Linked DNA regions of Homo sapiens: regions 1, 2, 4, 5, 6 and 7 are each linked to region 3. The links are contacts of gene promoters, found by promoter capture Hi-C in blood cells and fetal thymus (Javierre and others, 2016). All regions are on one chromosome and are shown on one strand. Each heading gives the region's core, a stretch centred on a gene start or on the middle of the fragment in contact. The rest is flanking DNA. Distances are from core to core; before and after follow the strand shown. Region 1 overlaps LOC107987435 (a long non-coding RNA gene). Region 2 holds the start of PRB4 (proline rich protein BstNI subfamily 4). Region 3 holds the start of TAS2R8 (taste 2 receptor member 8). Region 4 overlaps LOC107987435 (a long non-coding RNA gene). Region 5 overlaps SMIM10L1 (small integral membrane protein 10 like 1). Region 6 overlaps PRH1-TAS2R14 (PRH1-TAS2R14 readthrough). Region 7 overlaps LOC107987435 (a long non-coding RNA gene).

The links. Contacts are between HindIII fragments. The CHiCAGO score rates a contact against its expected background, and 5 or more counts as called.
Region 1: a fragment that was not itself captured here is called in contact with the fragment with the promoter of TAS2R8 in region 3 in 8 of 17 cell types (endothelial precursors, M0 macrophages, M2 macrophages and 5 more); the score reaches 8.8 in endothelial precursors.
Region 2: a contact is called between the fragment with the promoter of PRB4 here and the fragment with the promoter of TAS2R8 in region 3, in 17 of 17 cell types (non-activated CD4 T cells, M1 macrophages, total CD8 T cells and 14 more). The highest score is 18.0, in non-activated CD4 T cells.
Region 4: a fragment that was not itself captured here is called in contact with the fragment with the promoter of TAS2R8 in region 3 in 4 of 17 cell types (M1 macrophages, M0 macrophages, erythroblasts and 1 more); the score reaches 8.0 in M1 macrophages.
Region 5: a fragment that was not itself captured here is called in contact with the fragment with the promoter of TAS2R8 in region 3 in 1 of 17 cell types (M1 macrophages); the score reaches 5.8 in M1 macrophages.
Region 6: a fragment that was not itself captured here is called in contact with the fragment with the promoter of TAS2R8 in region 3 in 1 of 17 cell types (M2 macrophages); the score reaches 5.7 in M2 macrophages.
Region 7: a contact is called between a fragment that was not itself captured here and the fragment with the promoter of TAS2R8 in region 3, in 8 of 17 cell types (erythroblasts, M0 macrophages, endothelial precursors and 5 more). The highest score is 10.2, in erythroblasts.

What each region holds. Positions count from the first base shown.
Region 1 is chr12:11,190,535-11,193,391 of GRCh38, forward strand. All of the region lies in intron 1 of LOC107987435 (a long non-coding RNA gene), which reads left to right. Among named protein-coding and RNA genes, the nearest start is that of TAS2R42, 5.0 kb to the left of the region's middle. The HindIII fragment of the contact is 1,028 bases long and covers 793-1,820 here.
Region 2 is chr12:11,309,129-11,311,873 of GRCh38, forward strand. It overlaps PRB4 (proline rich protein BstNI subfamily 4), which reads right to left and starts at 1,308. Exons shown (of 4, transcript NM_002723.6): 1 at 1,207-1,308; 2 at 242-277. The coding sequence starts at 1,270. The HindIII fragment of the contact is 5,809 bases long and covers 1-1,894 here.
Region 3 is chr12:10,805,967-10,808,687 of GRCh38, forward strand. It overlaps TAS2R8 (taste 2 receptor member 8), which reads right to left and starts at 1,320. Exons shown (of 1, transcript NM_023918.3): 1 at 85-1,320. The coding sequence starts at 1,014. The coding sequence ends at 85. The HindIII fragment of the contact is 4,624 bases long and covers 1-2,721 here.
Region 4 is chr12:11,230,830-11,233,779 of GRCh38, forward strand. The region is part of intron 1 of LOC107987435 (a long non-coding RNA gene); the gene reads left to right. Among named protein-coding and RNA genes, the nearest start is that of PRB3, 37 kb to the right of the region's middle. The HindIII fragment of the contact is 976 bases long and covers 1,024-1,999 here.
Region 5 is chr12:11,173,617-11,176,398 of GRCh38, forward strand. It overlaps SMIM10L1 (small integral membrane protein 10 like 1), which reads left to right. Exons shown (of 1, transcript NM_001271592.2): 1 at 1-2,400. Among named protein-coding and RNA genes, the nearest start is that of PRH1-PRR4, 3.4 kb to the left of the region's middle. The HindIII fragment of the contact is 3,407 bases long and covers 1-2,782 here.
Region 6 is chr12:11,155,880-11,158,921 of GRCh38, forward strand. The region is part of intron 1 of PRH1-TAS2R14 (PRH1-TAS2R14 readthrough); the gene reads right to left. The region is part of intron 1 of PRH1-PRR4 (PRH1-PRR4 readthrough); the gene reads right to left. It also overlaps a transcript of PRH1 not described here and the pseudogene TAS2R18P. Among named protein-coding and RNA genes, the nearest start is that of SMIM10L1, 14 kb to the right of the region's middle. The HindIII fragment of the contact is 4,679 bases long and covers 1-3,042 here.
Region 7 is chr12:11,209,576-11,212,367 of GRCh38, forward strand. All of the region lies in intron 1 of LOC107987435 (a long non-coding RNA gene), which reads left to right. Among named protein-coding and RNA genes, the nearest start is that of TAS2R42, 24 kb to the left of the region's middle. The HindIII fragment of the contact is 1,485 bases long and covers 612-2,096 here.

The sequences.
Region 1 (2,857 bases), core at 57-2,556, 380 kb after region 3:
TCATCCCATGGCAGAACGTCAAAGAGAGGGAGACAGAGACAGAGTAAACTCACACTTTTAAAAGAAACCAACTCATGTGATAAACCCACTCCTGTGATAACAGCATGGATCCATCCATGAGGGTAATGCCCTCACGACCTAACACCTTTTAAAGGTCCCACCTCCCAATACCTCCAGGTCTCCAACAAGTGAACTTTGTGGGACACATTCAAATCATAGCATTTCACCCCTGGGCCCCCAAAGGTATGTCCTTCACACATGCAAAATTCATTTCCTCCCTTCCAGTAGCCCCCACATTGTAACTCATTCTAGCACCAACTTAAAAATCCAAACTCCAGAGTCTCATCCAAGTCAGATATGGATAAGACTCAAGGCACAATTCATCCTGAGGCAAATTCTCCAGCCATGAGCCTGTGGAATCAAAACAAGTTACCCACTTCCGAAATTCAGTGGTGGGACAGACATATGAAAGACATTTCCATTCCTGGGAAAAATAGGCAAGAAAAGAGGGGCAATTGGCCTTAAGTAAGTCCAAAACCCAGCAGGGCAAACCATATTAAATCCTAAGGGTTGAGAATAATCTTTGACTCCATGTCCCACCTTCTAGACCCACTGGGTCAGGGATTGGGCCCCCAATTTCCCAGGCAGCCTCACCTCCACAGCTTTGCTTGTCTCAGTTCACTCCTGAGCAGCTCTCACAGGTTGGAGTTTTGTGCCTATAGATCTCCCAGACTGGTTTTGTGAGGCAGCACAGGGCAGTGAATGCTGAGGTCTTTCAGGCACCTCTCTGGAAGCTTTGACCTTAAGGTCCTAACTTGCGTAACTTCTGGTCCTAACTCCATGATCTCGGAAATATCTTCCAGGTCATTCTCCCTTTGTCTTATGAATAGAACTTGGCTTCCTTCTAGCCAGATTAATATTTTCAGCAAATGACCACTTGGCCAAACCCTTCTTATTCTCTCTCGAACATGCTTTTTTATTCTTTATATGGCCAGGCTGAGAGTTCTCCAAATTTTTCTATTAGTCTTCACTTTTCATTATAAATTCCATCTTTAAATCATTTCTCTCTCCTCAACATTTTACTATATGTGCTTGAAAGAAGCCATGGAGCCCACTGAATGTTTTGCTGCTGAGATGTCTCTTCCATCAGATATCGTAGTTCACCTCTCTTAAATTCTGCCTTCCATAAAGCCAAAGGGCATGAACAGAATTCTGCCAAGTTTTTTTGCCACTTCATAACAAGGATGATCCTTACTCCAGTTTCCAATAAGACATTTCTCTTTTCCACCTGAGACCTCATCAGAATGGCGTTTACTCTCTATATGTCTACCAACATTCTCATCAGGACCATAAAAGTAATCTCTAAGAAGTTGCAGACTTTCCCTACAGTTATCCTCGCCTGAGACCTCAGTGGAATCACTCTTAATACAAAATTTGTGGCAATCTAGGCTTTTTCTAGCCTGCTCCTCCCATACCAATTTCCTGTCTTAGCCTGCTTTGTGCTGCTCTAACAAAATACCACAAACTGGGAAAATTATAAAGAAAGAAATTTATTCCTCAATTCTGGAGTCTGGGAAGTCCAATATAAAGGTGCCAGCATGTGGTAAGGGATTTCTTACTGTGTCATCTTATGGGAGAAGGGCAAAAAGAGAGAGAGAGAACGAGAATGGGGCTTAACTTGTCCTTGTATAAGGAATCAGCTCCTGTAATAACAAACCCACTACTCAATAATTGTGTTAAGCCATTTATGAGGGTTGTGCCTTCATGACCTAAACACTTCTTAAAGTTTCCACCTCCAAAAACCTCCACACTGGGGATCAAGCTTCTAACACATGAACTTTGGGGGACATATTCAAACCATAGCAGCCATGTATTTTACTAATTATAAAAAACAATAGTAACAACAACAATAATAAAAGGTATCATTTCTAGAACTCTTACTATATGCCTGGCTCTGGATAAAATGATTGACTTGCATTTGTGCATATATTAACTTAAGAAAATGCATGACAACCAATGAGCATATGAAAAGAAGCTCAATATCCCTGATCATTCAAGAAAAATTAATCAAAACCACAATGAGATATCATTGCACACCAGTCAGAATGACTATTATTAAAAAGTCGAAAAATAACAAATGCCAGTGAGGTTGTGGAGAAAAAGAAGTGCTTATACCCTATTGGTGGGAATGTAAAGTAGTTCAGCCATTGTGGAAGAAAATGTGGCAGTTCCTCAAAGATCTAAAGCCAGAACTACCATTCGACCCAGCAATCCCATTACTGGGTATATACCCAGAGGAATATAAATCATTCTGTTATAAAGACACATACATGCAAATGTTCATTGCAGTACTGTTCATAATAGCAAAGACATGGAATCAACCCAAATGCCCATCAATGATAGACTGGTAAGGAAAATGTGGTACATATACACCATGAAATACTATGCAGCCATAAAAAAGAATAAGATCATGTCCTTTTCAGGGATACGGATGGAGCTGGAGGCCATTATCTTTAGCAAACTAATACAGAAACTGAAAACCAAATACTGCCTGTTCTCACTTATAAGTGGGAGCTAAATTATGAGAACACGTGGACTCATAGAGGGGAACACCACACACTGAAGCCTCTTGGAGGGTGGAGGGTGGGAGGATGAAGAGGATCAGAAAAATAACTATTAGGTACTAGGCTTAATTCCTGGGTGATAAAATAATCTGTACAACAAACCCCCACAACACAAGCTTACTTATGAAACAAATCTGTGTTTGTACCCCTGAACTTAAAACGTGATTTCTGGGTGTGTCTGTGATGCTGTCTGAAAGAGATTAGCATTTAAATTGGTTGACTGAGAAAAGAAG
Region 2 (2,745 bases), core at 58-2,557, 500 kb after region 3:
TGGCCAGGGGGATGTCAACCCACTCCTGTTGTCATCTAAGCCAAGCATCTCTGACATTCCATTTGGTGGCCTGCTCATGGTCCCCAGAATCAAGTTTGCATGAAGATTGCCTATATCATTAGGGGCAATAACATTAATCAATTCCTGAAAGGAAAGTGTTGATAAGAAGACACTGGAGAAATGATCCATTTGTAAGCAGAAAAAGGGAGTCAAAACAGATTGAGAATGAATTGGGATTTACCTGATATTAGGAAGAGAGATTCTTCCTGGCTGACATCTAGAAGAGAAGCACAGGATGATGGGAAATGTTACATCTCAAATCTTCAAGACTCACAAGTGTTCTACAGGGAAAATTGTCTTCTCACCACACCCCATGCATCCCCTAGGTTAACTCATCAGCCACCATCTGTGAAGGTGCTGGAAGGGGTGGAAGGTGTAAGAGGAGGCAGGGTTGTTACCACACAGAGCAACAGCAATGAGTTCAACATAGAACAGCCCCTTTTTTTCCTCCCTAGCATCCCTCAAGACTTAATGCTTATTTAGTTTATGCATGCCAGGTACTTCAATGTGATATTTTGGTGTTCTTATGCCCTCCATCTCCTGTTAATATATTGCATACATACACATGTTTTCTCAATAGGGGTAACCAGAAGTAATCATTTCAATACAATCTAACCCATTCCACTCCCAGCACATTGAAATACTGCATGTAGGGGAGAGAAAAATTGTAATGATTGGCTCTGATATTTCTACATCTTTAGTTAGACAGAGACAAGTGTTCTATCCAGTTCTGTCTCTGCAGTATCTCTGATGTGTATGTATCTCTATCATCAATGCCGACTGTCTGTACAGCAAGGCCACCATCATCCCTGTGTACTTACTGGGATCAGTATAGGATCTTCACAGCTGGACTTCCCTGAATCTGCCTTGCACTCTCCACTGCAGCCTTCACAGCACAGTTCTATCTCTATAAATTCAAATCTTACCTTCTCATTCCCCTGGAACAAATTCGTTATTGGATTTCATTGTACATTAAATAAATTAGAAGTCCTTATTGTGGAATGAGGGCACAACAGGTCTCCTGATCCTAGGCATGAAAACTCTGCAGCCCCATCTGTGTTTTCATTCTCCTCTCTTCCCCATAATTACCACTGTCACCTCCTAAGTCCCAAGCAGTCACCGCATCTTTTCCCCCTTCTGTTTTACCTTCACTTGAACTCTCAGCTGAGCTCAGGGCCAGCAGGGCCACTGACAGCAGAATCAGCAGCATCTCGCTGGAGGCTCTGGAGTCACTCCCAACTCTGTGCTGGGAGGAACGTGGCAACTCCCTTTATAAAGAGGAGCAAAACAATGGCACCTTTGAGCCCTGGGTGGGCCTCACCACCTCAGAGACTGGGTTCTGCTTTCCTTACTGCAGGTCAGGTGTATCCCTTATTTCTCTTTGGGACTCTAGCCCAGAGGGATGGGGTGGGTTGGATGTTGTTTGTGCCTTATTTCTAAAAGGTACGACTATGACTTGAATAAAGGTTCTAAAGGAACTGTGTCCAAGCTATCAGCACTGTGTCATAATTGAACTTCAGACATCATTAGAGTTTCAATCCTTTTGGTAAGACTATGTCTGCTTTCCACTCTACTATTTATTTCTGTGTAATATTTGTGGGGGCAGTGAAGCTACAGCCAGCAGTGAAGATGGTCAATTTCTCTGGCTCTTTATAGAGCCTATTTCCATCTCTTGTGATGTGTGTGTACAGATAGTATCACAATTGGCTAAAGTTTTGATGCGATAGAGATGGTTTCTGTTACCTGTGTGATGGTGTGAAGACAACACACTCCTGGGCACACATAGATGACAGAAAGCTGCCCCACAGCCTGCTCGGGCTACAACTATTGTTCAAGCTTCTGTGGATCTGACTCAGCTCAGGCAAGGCTTGTTGTTGTGCCACACAGGAAGGCCAAAATTGTGTATTTTAAAGTACCTTTAGGGGTTATTAATGCAAAATGTACACAGAAACCATAAGGAAATTTCTAGATCTGAGAAAACTGAATACATAATTCCTTGCGGGAGCCATGCGATATCATGTTGCCAAAACTTCCTTCATGCTCTTCCCTTTGTCCAGAATATTCTATAATATTCACCCTCTGCTTCATTTCTTTTAATAATTGTATTGAATTCCTACCACTTATAATTAAGTGGCTACAATTCTACATTCAAATAGGATAATCAGATACCCTCGTTAAAGCCTAAATTGCATTATATTGGTATTCTTGGTTTAGTCAGTATTTGTGTTACCTGTTTTCTCAGATTGTTCTTCCACAAAGAGTATTTTTCTATAATATTCTGATATGCATTCCTCCCCACCTTCTTTCTGGTTCTTCTTTGTTCATATTTTATTTTCTGAGTCAAGCCCATTATGTGTATTTTTCTTTATGTATCTGGCTTTTTTCCCCATGAATTTGGTGAGATTTCCTTTATTTAATCTTCTAAGTATTAGGATATAGTACTTACCATCTTTGTTTCATTCTTGTCTGTGTAATTTCATAATACGTGTTGTGTTTCCAAAAAGCCCTATCAGAGACCTGCATTGTTAGCACTTCTTTCAGCTACTGATTCTTCGTTATATCTGATAAATACCTGCTTATCAGTTCATGGAATATACAGGTTACTCAGTATCAACAGCTGCCATTTACCACTTAGACCTTCCATGTGTCTTGTGTAATTGTTCACATTTTGTGCATGGCTGGTAT
Region 3 (2,721 bases), core at 70-2,569:
GAAAAATGAGAATAGACTATTAAGAAAACTATATTTTTTGTTAGAGAAGATTTGGTTTTAAATTCCATTTATACAGCTAAGATTTCATATCATGCAGGCAATTTTTCTACATGTCAGCATTCTGACAAATGTCTGCCTCAGTTTATTATTTAAAACAATTAAAATAAGTGAGTGACCCAAGGGGTAGAGAATTGCTGCAATCTCTCCAAACTCCACAGCTAACTTGTATTTTGTCATAAGATAGCTAAAGGTCATCAAAATAGAAGAAATATAGTATAGGAAAAAAAAGAAGATAAATGAAGTCATAGTTTTAATGGCTCTCACATGAACTTCTGTGCTGGGGTCTCTACTGCCGGTAGCATAGAGTTTTATTTGCTTGGTATGTCTCCATAAAGATCTTACTAAAAGGAAAAATGATATCAGTGACACAATAAATGGGACAATTGCAAACAGGTTAAAGAGAGTCAAGGGTTCAAAGTATGGTATTTTACTCACATGGAACATTTCAGTAATGTTTCTTTTATGTTTGGCAATTGCATGAAACCTATAATCACAACTCAGTACTATTGCTGCTATAAGGCTGACCAACAAGGAAATGGCAAAGCATCCCAGCAGGATCCAGTGCACCACCATATCAATTTTCCACTTCAGCCAGAGAAAAAGTGGATGAGAGGAACTGGCTATCTTCAGAAAATAGAAGACATTAAGGCAGGTGGTAATCCACATATTTAAGTAGTTGGCAAATGTCCAGAAGGTAAAAATGACTATCTGTTGTTTATTTTTTGTATAAACATCTGGGTTCAGTACTATTACAATGCCATTTACAACCATTACACTGATCAAACAAATTCTGGCGATAACTAAATTGGTAAGGATGTAGTCAACTGTGGAAATCTTTTTCTTCTTAATCCAGTCAATCCAGTTGACTAGTGCAATGTATCCATTCCCCAATATTCCTAGTATGAATTCTCCAGTTATTAGGATTATAAAGATGTTATCTGCAGGACTGAACATGTTTGTAGAGAGAACAATCTGATTTCAAATATCACTGTAGATGAGCTAATTTACAGGTGACCTGTTAAAGCATGATAGATCAATTCTTCGAATCATGCAATAATGTTTTCATCTGCTGTTATTTCGACGTTGTTATTCTTCCGGAAGTGTTCAGCTCTCCTCTGAAATAGGATTGTCTCTACACTCCTGAAGATGAAACCAACTAATGAGCAGCTTGACTAGTTATTTATAGCCTGGAAAAATTATAATTATTATCCTTTAGTGAGTGATACCTGAAATGTTTGGCTGAAATTGCTCCCATGCAAATTCAAAGAGATTTTATATCATGAATTTGCAACAGGCTTCTTGCTGTAGCTCTATATTTGGATCTTCAAATTGAGTTTTGAATAGGGAGTCATAAAAAAAGAGATAAATGTTTAATAAAAACCCAACTGTGTAAATAAAACTTCATTTTCATCATGTAAGTTATAAATAAGCCACAAATCAGTTCTCCCAGATGCAAAGAAATTTTCACTTTGGAAGTAATTAGTACAATTAGATTGTAGATATTTAACATTTAGTCAGAGGATAATAATTCTTGTCTTCATTTAAACGGCTAATTAGGGAAGGATATAATACAAATCTAATTAGAAATGACTTTTTTTTAGGCAGGCACATGATAATATTTACTAAGAATTTGCTTTCTTTTCAATTGTTCCTCAGAAGTGAAATATGCCAGGTAAAGATTTGTTATCTTTAGTTTTTTTTTAATGTGACAAATACCCTTGAAGACAATTCATTTCCTGAATCACTGTCTCTTGTATAATAAGCATTGTAATCTAAAATTAAGAAAATTTAAATTTTACATTATTCTAGTTCCAATCAACTCCTTTTATAAGATTTGTAATCTCACAGTGCATATTATAGTCATATTTCTAGATAGGGCAAACACATAAAAAAGTAACTACTTGGGAGACTGAGGCAGGGGGATCATTTGAACCGGGAGGCAGAGGTTGCAGTGAGCCAAGATCGTGCCACTGCACTCCAACCTGGGCGATACAGTGAGACTCTGTCTCAAAATAATAATAATAATTTTTTTTTTTTACATACCAGTATTTCCAAGGAATAGGACTAATTCTACTATTAAATTAGATTTATTTGTTTTGGGGTAAGGGAAAGTACAACTTAGCCCAAAATACATTTGAATGTAGGTAATACAAATCACAATACCCTAGGGCTTCTTGTATTTAAATAGTTCTACAATGTATACAACACATGCAGGATTTTTTCTATTTCTTACATGTGTGTAATGTGTAACAGGAAAGCATAAACTTAATAACTTAAAGAAACCTAGTTATCTATAAACTACTGCTGGAAACAAAATAGAAAAGAAAATGATGCAGAGGGAAAAAAATATGTCAGAGATTTCTGAGTTAGAAGGCTAGAGAGAACATTCCAGGGAATCTTTGGGAAATGACTTCTAAAATTGCCATCACCAGCTAGAGTACTCATGAACACGCTGACTACTGGGACCCTCAACCTTCTTTCTCAAGGTGGTTCTGCTATACATAACTGTGCCTCCTCTCTCTGTCAAACTTTCATTCTTGAGATTATACTCCTTTTCCCACATCATATATCATCTTAGATAGAATCTCATTAAAGATTGTTTTTCTCCCTTCTTGATCAAGACAAACCCTTCCAGAAATGGAGAGGAAAGGGCGGTGAAGA
Region 4 (2,950 bases), core at 262-2,761, 430 kb after region 3:
AACATGAGAGTGCAGATGTCTCTTTAATATAATAATTACCTTTGCTTTGGATAAATTCCTAGTAGTGTGTTCTCTTTATCTTGAGCTTCTTATTTCACATCCTCACCCAATTCTGACAATCCTGGTATTTGAGCTCATTATGTAGACTCCTACTTGTGTTTCACTTTATAGTTCAGATGTGACAATTAGCTCCACATTTTTAGCTATAATGTGGACTGCTCTTATTGACCACAATCCTAATTTTTCTTCTGTCCAGGGTGTTCCAAGATGAAAAAAAAAAAAAAACAGAGGGAGACAAAAGTTAACTCTTGTCCAAGATCTGAGCTTAACTGTAAGTTTTAAAGAATACTTAGAAAGCACGGGTTCCCTGGCACAGATAAAAGTATCCTGGATTCAGGGGTAGAAAAAAAAAGATCTAAGAGGAATTCAACAGAGATAGATGCTTTATAGGTCTCTGAGAAGGGCCCTCTACAACCTGTCTCCCACCCCTAAAACCTACAGCAGATTTGAAGCACACAGGAGGGAGTAACAGAACCTCAAATAAATTTGGAAAAAGGAAAGTAAAAGACAATTGTGTCTGGCCTGGTGAAGCCTGAGGAGGCAGCAAGCCTGGTTAAAGAAAACTTTCTGTCCAGCAGGATAATCTACACAATAGATTAGAAATGACAGGATATGCTCAGTACTTTGGTTGTGGTGATGTTATCACAGGTGGATCCCTAGGGCCAAACTCATCAAGATATATATATACATATTAAATGTGTCCAACTTTTATACACCAATGATACCTCAATAAAGCTTTCAAAAGAATAAAAGAAAGAACTAACTGCATAAAGATGCTTAGACAAATGGTCACTGTCTACCCTGGCATGGTACAGTCAAGGGCAAAATACTTTCTCAGGTTACCAGAATAGGTATGAATATGGTCTGATGGCTGAGCCAGAGAGACGGGTAGTCCTTTGGACAGAGGGACACAGTAGTGGATGTCAGAGGGGACTAAGAACTAGAGCCAAGTAGAAGCTCAAAAGCTTCGGCCAGTGCCAGTGTCAGAGCAACCAGTGGAGACCTGCATGGATAAAGGTGCAGCAGCAGATGACTAACAACCAGGCCCACCCCAGCCCCACTAATGCTTGATAGAATTGTATGCTACCTCAGGAAGAAGGCAGGATGGACGTAGGAGTGGGAGGGCTCTGAAATTACTGGGTTTACCTTGAGTTGACTAGACTTTAACATAATACAGCAAGAAAAATTGACTAAGATCAGATAAAGAAAAGAAAGTGATATTTTTCCACACACTTGGACTCATGGTCTTTGGATTTCATATCCACTGAATAATCAAACAAATAATGGCAACAGGTAAGGTAGAGGTGGACAGGGGGCTGAGGAACCACAGAACAGTGAGATCTAGGAGGTATTGCAGGGCAGGCAGAAGAGTGGACACAGACTGGAAGGACAGATTTTAAACAATAAAATTAATGGAAAGATTTTCATATTGGATGAACGGAATATACAAAGTATTGAAGTTGAGACAAAGCACAGAGCCCTTGAAGAATAGAAAGATTTTTTTAATGTGGGTGGAACATGGAGTGAGATGACGGAGTGGTGAGAGATAGATTCAAGTATTAAACCAGAGTTTTGAATTCTAAAGCCTTTACAACCAACTTCCAGTTTCCAGGAAATACAGGGGATGGAGTGTGAAGTTAACTGACACACACACAAATAAACACCAAGCAAATCTAGAATGTGTGATAGTTCTGAGGACATGTCATCCACTTAATCAGTAAGTTCATTGCATGGGAAGAAAGGAGGGTGAATGTCCTTTGCCGAATATAAAACATAACAACTAAGTGTAGGGAAGGTTCCAGGTTTGGGGGAGACTAAAGTTGATGTAATTTCAATTGTTCTGTTTAAGAAAAATAATACAAAATTAGGAACAGAAATTTGCTAAGGCCCTTGCAGGGTCATGGAAAGGGCCTTTGCAAATGAAAGAATCCAAAAGTTAAGCTTCAATTGCTGTGTAGAAAATTCAAAACTGATCAAATGCAACATGTCAACCTTGTGTGGATCCTAATTTAAATAATTTGCATTCATTCTACAAAAGTGTAAAGACATTTCTGAGACAATCAGGAAAAAAGTATAAACTGAATTAAGCTGGAAAACAGAAATATTTAGTGGAAATTTAAGAGAAATCAAAAACCTTTCTGTATCTTATCATAAACTTGAGTTCTGCGCATGTCTGTATAATGGAAGGGACAAAGGATATTCCTGTCTATCCAGAGGGTTATTTTAGTAGTCCTAAAGCCTCTTCACTGGTAGGCTTGAAACTATAGGGGTTTGTTATAGGAAACTACATGTGCTAGAATATTAAAATAGAATGCAGTGTTCACTTAAAATTGTTTCCAGGGTTCAAAAAATAGGTTGAGTTTACTCATCAACCTTCTGAAAAATAACCGTATGATTATGAACTCATGGTCATGTTATATTTAATGCAGCTAGTAAAAAATGGTCTGCACAGATTCTTCTGCTAAAATTAGGAACACAGGTAACAGCAATCTGTGTTGTAAAGCAACTTGAATAAATTTTAAAAGAAAGAGATAAGCGAAGGAACCATTTACAGAAGCTCTTTAAAGCTATGTTAAGGAATTTCTCTTCAACCTAAGGATATTGGAATGCTATCAAAGAGTATGAAGCCAGTGTATTAGGCCATTTTCCATTTCTACAAAGGAATACCTGAGACTGGGTAAAGATGTTTATTTGATTCACAGTTCTGCAGGCTGTACAAGCATGGTACTAGCGTCTGCTCAGCTTCTGGGGAGGCCTCTGGAAGCTTTTATTCATGGCAGAAGGCTAAGGGCGAACAGGCGTGTCACATGGCAAAAGAGAGAGGAGGAGGTGCCAGGCTCTGTTTAACAATCAGATCTCATGTTAATAACTGAAGGAACTCATTCTTGCC
Region 5 (2,782 bases), core at 183-2,682, 370 kb after region 3:
GATGTCCCAATTTGTAACACAAAAGACTGTCTAGTCTTAATCCTGAAATGGTGACAGAGTAGGATGCTCCATTTGGGTGACTATGTGAACATATTCCTATAACTTTTTTCCTCACATCAGTCATTTGTTAAACCGAAGATGAAGAAACAGACTTTGTATTTATTACATCCTCCAACATAATTGGCAGCTCTGTGAGGGAAGACACTATATCCTATTCAATTTTACACCCGGTAGTAACAGTATGTGTGTGTACTGTATATATACATATATATATACATACACATATATAAATTTAAGTAGTAACTATATATGTATATATGTATAGTTACTACTTACTATATATGTATACAGTATATAAGTATATATGTATAGTTACTACTTACAATATATGCATAAAGTTACAGCTTACATTTACCTCGTAATATATGTATATATATATATTAGGAGTTAAATGTATTAGGAGGTAAATGTAAACTCTGTGGTTTATCATTTATTCACAATTGCTCTTAATTCTTGGGGTATAGTTTGCCTCCTACATGATGCAATTCAGTGAAATTCCCAGGAGACAAAACAAGATTTTGACCTGAATAAACCACTTATTGTTGTAATTCACAAGTGAGTTTATTCTTCCTGGCACACTTCCAGGTAATATCCATTAGGCTAAGGATTTTGTTTGTTCACTGTTCTATCCCCAAGCCTAGAGCACTGCCCAGTGCGGAATAGCTAATAAATATTGTTGAATGGATAGATGAATGGCAATTTTGTTGGTATGCTCTACATAGTCAGCAGTCAATAAAGGAAACATATATTCGTTCCTGATAATAAGATGATTCACTTTATTGCCCATAAATTGGGCTTTTTCAGGCCATCATGCACGTTGATTGATCCAGAGATCCCTCAAGCATGAAAAAGCAGAGACATAGGTGGTATAGTTATTATCAATAGAGATAAGAAATGTAGCTGGCAAAAAAAAAAATGGGAAACGATGCGTTACAGCTTATTTTAACTATAAAAGGAAAACAGTGAACATAGCAACATATGTAACCTAAGGGATAGGGGAAAAGTTGTTTTTTTTTTTTTAATTCTGGGTAAAAATACATGTGATTACTTGACAAATAGCATATCATTACCATCAGCATCATTTTTAAAATATATTGAGTTTTTAATACCAGGAACTATGAAAAACTATTTATATACATGAGCTCCGTAATTCTCACATATACCCTGTGAGGAAAACATTTTTATCATTTTTCAGAGAAGCAAACCGGGATTTAGAGAGGTTAAGTAAATTCCTAAGGTCATGATAACCAACCAGACCTCAAATGAATCTCCAGTAATTCCTAAAGTTATATTTCATAAGGAGTTCAATTTTCTTAAATGTGTAGATAATTACAAATAATTCTGTTTCTCAAATTTCTGGACAGAAATATTACCTGGGTAATAGTTATTTTTTTTAACATAACTATTGAGGGTCTTTCATACTAAAATATAAATATTTAACATGATTTGATATGTAAGTTCAAGTATTTTATACTCTCTGCAGCCTTAAACCTATTGGCTTATTTTATTAGAGGGTTGGTGGGATTGAGGGATATGGGAGCAAAGGGAGAGAGAGGAAAGAACGTTGTCCTCAGAATGGAAGGGAAACACTTTCCTGTGCTACCCAGAGTAGAGATCAGACAATGTTAAATTTTGAAGCCATGTCTGTTCCTGTCCTGAGGATCCCTAACTAAATTTTGTTAGAAAATCTTGCAGTTTGCTTTTAATGGGAGATCTTTCTGGCAGGACATCAATAGCTTTTGATAGCGTCAAGAAGAAAATAAAGTTACATGCAGAAGCATAAAGGGGTAGGATGAAAGTTGAGGAATATAGGGACAAAAGATGAGGGAAAGGAATATCCTAATACTTGGAAGTTTGAGCATGGAAAGTAGTCTAAAGACGACTTGGGAAGTTCCAAGAAAATGAACCAAGAAAAGAACCTCTGCAAGAACTATGAGAATTCCCAACAATTGGGTTGGATTGATTCATATTAGTCTATTACTTGGGTTACCTTGAGTGTGGGGATTCTTCTTGCAGTTTTAACACTTGTACTATGGTCTGAATGTGCCCCCCAAAAATTCACATGTTGGCATTTAACCCCCAAAGTGATGATCTCAGGAGATGGGACCTTTGGGAGGTGATCAGGTCATAAAGATGAAACCCTCGTGAATGGGATTAGTGCCTTTATAAAGGAGACCCCAAAATAATTCCCTTACCCCTTTTGCCATGTAAGGTTATAGGGAAAAGTCATCTATGAACAAGGAAATGAACCCTCACCAGATACCAAATTTGTGAATGCCTGGATCTTGGACTTCCCAGCTTCTAGAACTATAAGAAATAAATTTCTGTTGTTCATAAGCACCCATTTTATGGTATTTTTTATAGCAGCCTGAACAAACTAGACTTAATAGGATTTGCTCAGCAGGATTACCACCAGGTCAAGTCATGAGATCTTTTCAAAATATAAGTAAACCTCCCCTTACCCCTACTCTCCACAAATACAAATTTCAGCAGTGCTCTTGGGACAACTAAAAGGCCCAAGGACCTTCCCAAAAGCCTACTACAAATGAAGAAACTATGGAAGTCTTAGTAGCTTAATTGCAGGACATCCCTGCCAGTTTCTATCCTGATTAGGGATCTGCAATGAACATTACAAAATCTTCACCATCTCCATGGCTTTCAACACCAAGCATATGGACTTAGCCACTGTAAAATAGTGGCATGCATCAATGAACAATAAAGA
Region 6 (3,042 bases), core at 445-2,944, 350 kb after region 3:
CTCAGACTCTCTTCACAGACAATGAAAAGGTTAAATAATAATTAAACTAAATTTAATCTTTTCACCTTCACCCCAGTCTATATGTTATTGGCATACATTTTATTCATTACCTCTTTTAACACAAGATATTATTGTTCTATACAGTCAATAGTCCTTTTAGTTACGCACATTTGCCATTGCCTTTATTTTCATTCCTTCTTGCATCTTCAACTTTGTATTTTCAGTAACTTTTTTCTATCTGAAAATGTATCCTTTTGAATTTCTGTTTATGAAATGTCTGCTACTCCTTTGAAACGCACTGAAAATATATTACATTGAATTCTAGCTTCCATGCTTTCTGCTGAAAATCAGTTGTCATTCAAACAGTTGATCCTTTCAACATAATCTATCTTTTTTCTCAGGCTACTTTTCAAATTTTCTATTGGTCTTTGGTTTCCTGTAGCATTTATATGTTAATTTGTTTTCAGTTATCTTGTCTGAGGTTTGTTGGTTTCTCGAATGTATGGATTGATACATTTTATTATTTTTGGAAAGGTCTCAGCAACATTACTTCTTCCCTACATTCTCTCTTCTAATCTTCCAGAACTCCAAAAGTATGTTAAGCCTTTCTGACTGTAGCCTCAATGCTCTTCCCCTTTAGCCTGTATTTTTCCATCTCTTTGTCTAATTATGCTTCACTCTGTGTAGTTATCTTCCAATTCACTAATTCTTTATTCTACCATTTCTAACTGATTGTTAAATCTAATTGATTGTTAAATATTGAATTCTTAATATTAATTTTTTCAGTCATTATTTTGGTGGTAGAAAGAAACTTTCACTCTATTTCTGTAAGTTATTTCTATGGATAAATAAAATACTCATAATACCAAATTCTTAAAGATTTTTTAAAAACTTTTAGTAAACTTGACAAGAAAATACCAATAATTCTCTTCTTTTACCCACACTTTGGTCAAAGAAAACACCAATTTTTTTTTTTTTTTTTTTTAGACGCAGGCTTGCTCTGTCACCCAGGCTGGAGTGCAGTGGCGCGATCTTGGCTCACTGCAAGCTCTGCCTCCTGGGTTCACACCAGTCTCCTGCCTCAGCCTCCCGAGTAGCTGGGTCTATAGGCACCCGCCACCATGCCCGGCTAATTTTTTTGTATTTTTAGTAGAGATGGGGTTTCACCATGTTAGCCAGGATGGTCTCGATCTCCTGACCTCGTGATCTGCCTGCCGCAGCCTCCCAAAGTGCTGGGATTACCCACACTTTGGTCAAGAATAGAATAAAAGTGTGAGTCTAATCATTCTTAACCAAGTTGAAAAGAACTAAAAATAAATTTGATGCAAGTAGCAGCTTCTCTGTTGCTGCATCTTCACCACAGACTCTTATTACATGAAAATTCAAGGAGCAGAACTTGATCTCAAAATGCCATTACCATAAATAAAAGATAATACATCAATCACAGCAACACCATCTTATAACATGGCTTAATATTTAAGTAGTCCTTTTACTCTCCTTACACTGTTAGACATGGGGCTTTGTGCCTTACAAGTCCATCATCAAGAGAGTATGATATTGAAGATGTGAGGGCTTATTTCTGTTTGGTTCATTGACTTTTAAAGCCTCTCTTTTGAAATAAGAGTTTAATTATAAAATGGTTTATTGACTTTATCTCTCTTATTATACAAATGCTATTTACACTAAAAACTAAATATTTCTGGTAGTTAGCCTCTGATGAGTTTAAGATTATTTATAAATCATTTGTTCAAGCAATGCATTTTAAGTAAAAATACACTCAACTTCTAACTCTAAATGTATTAAGTTTCACATAAGCCTTGCTCTTTAATAATGCAACTTACCCACAATAATAATCTTTAGGAAATTACCTAGACATTCTCCAAATCGTGCATGTAAACATTTAAAAAACAAATAGTTAAATGAAATATATGATGATGATAGTGGTGGTGGTGGTGATGATGATATTAATAGCTAAATGAGAGAACCCTACCTGATAAATGTGATAGATGTGACCTCACTCTAATTTCCTGAATGGAAGAGTTCATTTTGTCTGGAGAAAACAACAATTCTTCCCTATGGCCTTATCATTCTTACACCATTCTCTGCATCAGGGCTTAACCTGGAAGAATATTTTCACCTACTACTTCATGAAGACTAATATAAAACCAACATACTTCCCATGATTTACCAGCTATTTTTTCCCTTTATTCCATTTTTAAAATTATGGTAAAAGTTACCTCAAACAACAGTGCTGGGTTTTTTTTCTTTCATATGGACATATCCATTTCCTCTATTAAAATAATACATGATCTTCATTTCATATTTTAGTAACATCATTTGCAAGCAAAATTCTCTTAACTGCTTCATTACATTCCCAGCTACTGTGATTACATCTGGGTTATTTTATTACAGTAGTCAAAGTAGCACTACACATCCACAAACATATCCAAGCATTACACTGATATATATTATGCTTTAACAAACTTACTTAATTATACTTAACATTTTATAATTTTTTCCCTACTGTATTTATAATTTTTTGTTCAAAAAATTACATTACACTTTTTTCTGTGATTTTATATATATTTATTCATATTGCCTTGTATATCATATGTGCATTTATTTATATTCCATTATAAATGTTTATCTTTTTCTCCAAGTCTCACATACTCTATTGTTATTAGCAGGCATTATTATAGTAGAGACATTTCCTTGAATCAGACATTATGTCCGGCAACTTTGAGAAAATATGGTTAGTGAATATTTTAAGGAAAATTTCAGAATTATTTAACAACACTTAAAAGGACTCCAAAAAAGAAATTGTTAAATATAAAATTAACTTATGAGGTCTTCTATTAAGTTATTTCTTTCATAGATGCAGAAAGTTAAATTTTGTCTATGAAGTTAAAGGTTTTGCTTTTTTCAGAGAGAATTTAAGATGCCACAGTAGTCTCAAGGAGCTCTGTCTTAGCTTGTTGTTTCCCAAAATTATAATAAATGAGTGGCCTGAGGGAAAGGCAAGTAAAATCATCATAATAAACG
Region 7 (2,792 bases), core at 104-2,603, 400 kb after region 3:
CTAGTGGCTTTTATGGGCAGTTTTCTTAAAATGGAGCATAAAATTCTTAGGTCACAAAATTACATATTAAGAAACATAGATTATGTAAAAATGATTGTAAACTTTTAAACTATGTACAAATATTAGTTATATTAACAGTCATTAACACCCAGGTCCAAGACCAGGAATTAAGTAATAATTATTTCTATCTTCTGTGAGATCATTGGAGCAGAAGTGGTTACAAATTGATACCTTGCATTTAAAGATTAAGAACCTATCAGATAAAACAAAACATCCTATTGGACTCCTTACTTTCCCATCATCAAAAGCCAGAAGACTAGTACAGACAGACTGCTAATCACTATTTGGGCTCATAAGTAAAACATAAAGAGTAACATGAAATAATCCTGTGTTTTTTTTTTACTCTATTAAAATGACAGCAAATTCTTAGGCAAACTCTACAGTTTCCATTCGTTGAAATTAGAAGAACCTGCTTGGAAGTAATGCAAAACTTGGGTTTCTAAGTGAAGAAGCACATATGAGCCAAAAAGCTAAGGGGACATTTAGAACTTGGTAAGAAATCTCTGTGGCTCTAGTGAGAGACCTTCATGGCCTTACTACAAGGCCACTGAAGCTTTAGTGTGAGAACTTTATGATCTTTACAAGGAAGGTTTCTAAGGTCCTGGTGTGAGGTCCTCTGTTACTGATGTGAGACCACTGTGGCTGGCATTACCTTGACTCACTGAAACTTAGCTTTGCATTTCAAAGCTCTTGGAAAAGGTATATAATGTTAGAGAACTAGCACTTCAGTCCCATTAAAACCCACAACAAGAGTACCATTTCAGATGGATGAAATGATTTTTACCTCCTGTAATATTTCTCAGGGAAGACCACAAGCCAAGACTATAAGAAGAAGCAAAGACCTAGAATAGCCACCATAATACTGAAGAAGAAAAAAGTTGAAAGGTTGGAATGATCAAAATCCAGAACACTGACAACACCAAACACTGGTGAGGATGTGGAGCAACAAGAACTTTCCTTCATTGCTGGTGGAAATGCAAAATGGTACAGCCACTTTGGAAGACAGTTTGGTGATTTCATTTACAAAACTAAACGTACCGTTACCATATGATCTAGCAATCACACTCCTTGGTATTTATGCAAAGGAATTAAAAACTTATGCCCACACAAAAATCTGCACATGAATGTTTGTTTATATATCCTTGTCAAAACTTGGAAGCAGCCAAGATGTTCTTTAGTAGGTGAATGGATGAATAAACTGCAGTACATTCATACAATGGAATACTATTCAGTGCTAAGAAGAAATGCACTATCAAGCCATGAAAAAACATGGAGTAAATCTAAATGCCTATTGCTAAGTAAAACAGGCCAATCTGAAAAGGCTGTATGATTCCAACTCTATGACATTCTGGAAAGGTTATAACAATAAAGACTATAAAAAGATCAGTGGTTGCCAGGGGTTAGGGAAAAGGAAGAATGAACAGTTAAAGCCAAAAGGATTTTTAAGGCAATGAAAATACTCTGCACGATACTATAATGGTGGCTATATGTCATTATAAGTTTGTTCAAATCCATAGAATGTACAACATGAAGAGCATATCCTAATGTAAACTGTGGATTCTGGGGGATAATGATGTTTTAATGTAGGTTCATCAAATGTAACAAATATACCACTCTGTTAGGAGATATGGACAATGAAGGAGGCTATGCATGTGTGAAGACAGGGAATCTATGGAAAATCTCTGTACTTTCATCTCAATTTTGCTAGGGACCTAAAACTGCTTTAAAAAATAAAGTCTTTATTACAAAAATATTTTTAAATAGGCAAAAAGATCTAAGGAGACACCTCAACCAGAGAAGATATACAGATGGCAAATAAACATGAAAAAGTGTTCCACGTTGTATGTTATTACGGACTGAAAATTAAAACAACAATAAGATATCACTATATGCCTATTAGAATGACTAAAATGAAAAAAAATCTGACAATACTAATTACTGGCAAGGATGCAGATAAACAGGAACTGTCATGTATTGCTGGTGGGAATGCAAAATGATAGGATCACTTTGGAAGACAGTTTGGTAGTTTCTTACAAAGCTTAACCTAGTTTTACTATGTAATTCATCACGTGCACTCCTAGCTATCCACTCAAGTGATTTAAAAACTTATGTTTCTGCAAAAACCTACATGCACAAGTTTATAGCAGCTTTATTTATAATCATCGAAAACCAGAAGCAATCAAGATGTCCTTCAACAGGCAAATGAATTTTAAAAAACTGTTGTGTACACATACAGTAGAATATTATTCACTGAGAAAAAGAAAGAAGCTATTGATCTATGAAGGAACATGGATGAATCTTAAATGCATGTTGTAAGTGAAAAGAAGCCAGTATAGAAAGGGTACATATGCTATGATTCTAATTATATGATGTTCCACCATGATTGCTAGATCATATGGTAACAGTAAGTTTAGTTTTATAAAAAAATCACCAAACTGTCTTCCAAAGTGGCTGTACCATGTTGCATTTCCACCAACAATGAAGGAGAGTTCTTGTTGCTCCACATCCTCACCAGCGTTTTGTGTTGTCAGTGTTCTGGATTTTGGTCATTCCAATCTTTCGACTTTTATTCTTGCTCAGTATTATATTGACTATTCTAGGTCTTTGGTTCTCCTTATAAATTAATAATCAACTTGTAAATATTTGCAAAATGTTTGCAAAACTCTATAAAGAAGATTAAAAATAGAAGGTTAGTGGTTTCCTGGAGGGAGGGAGAGAGGAGGGTTGAATAG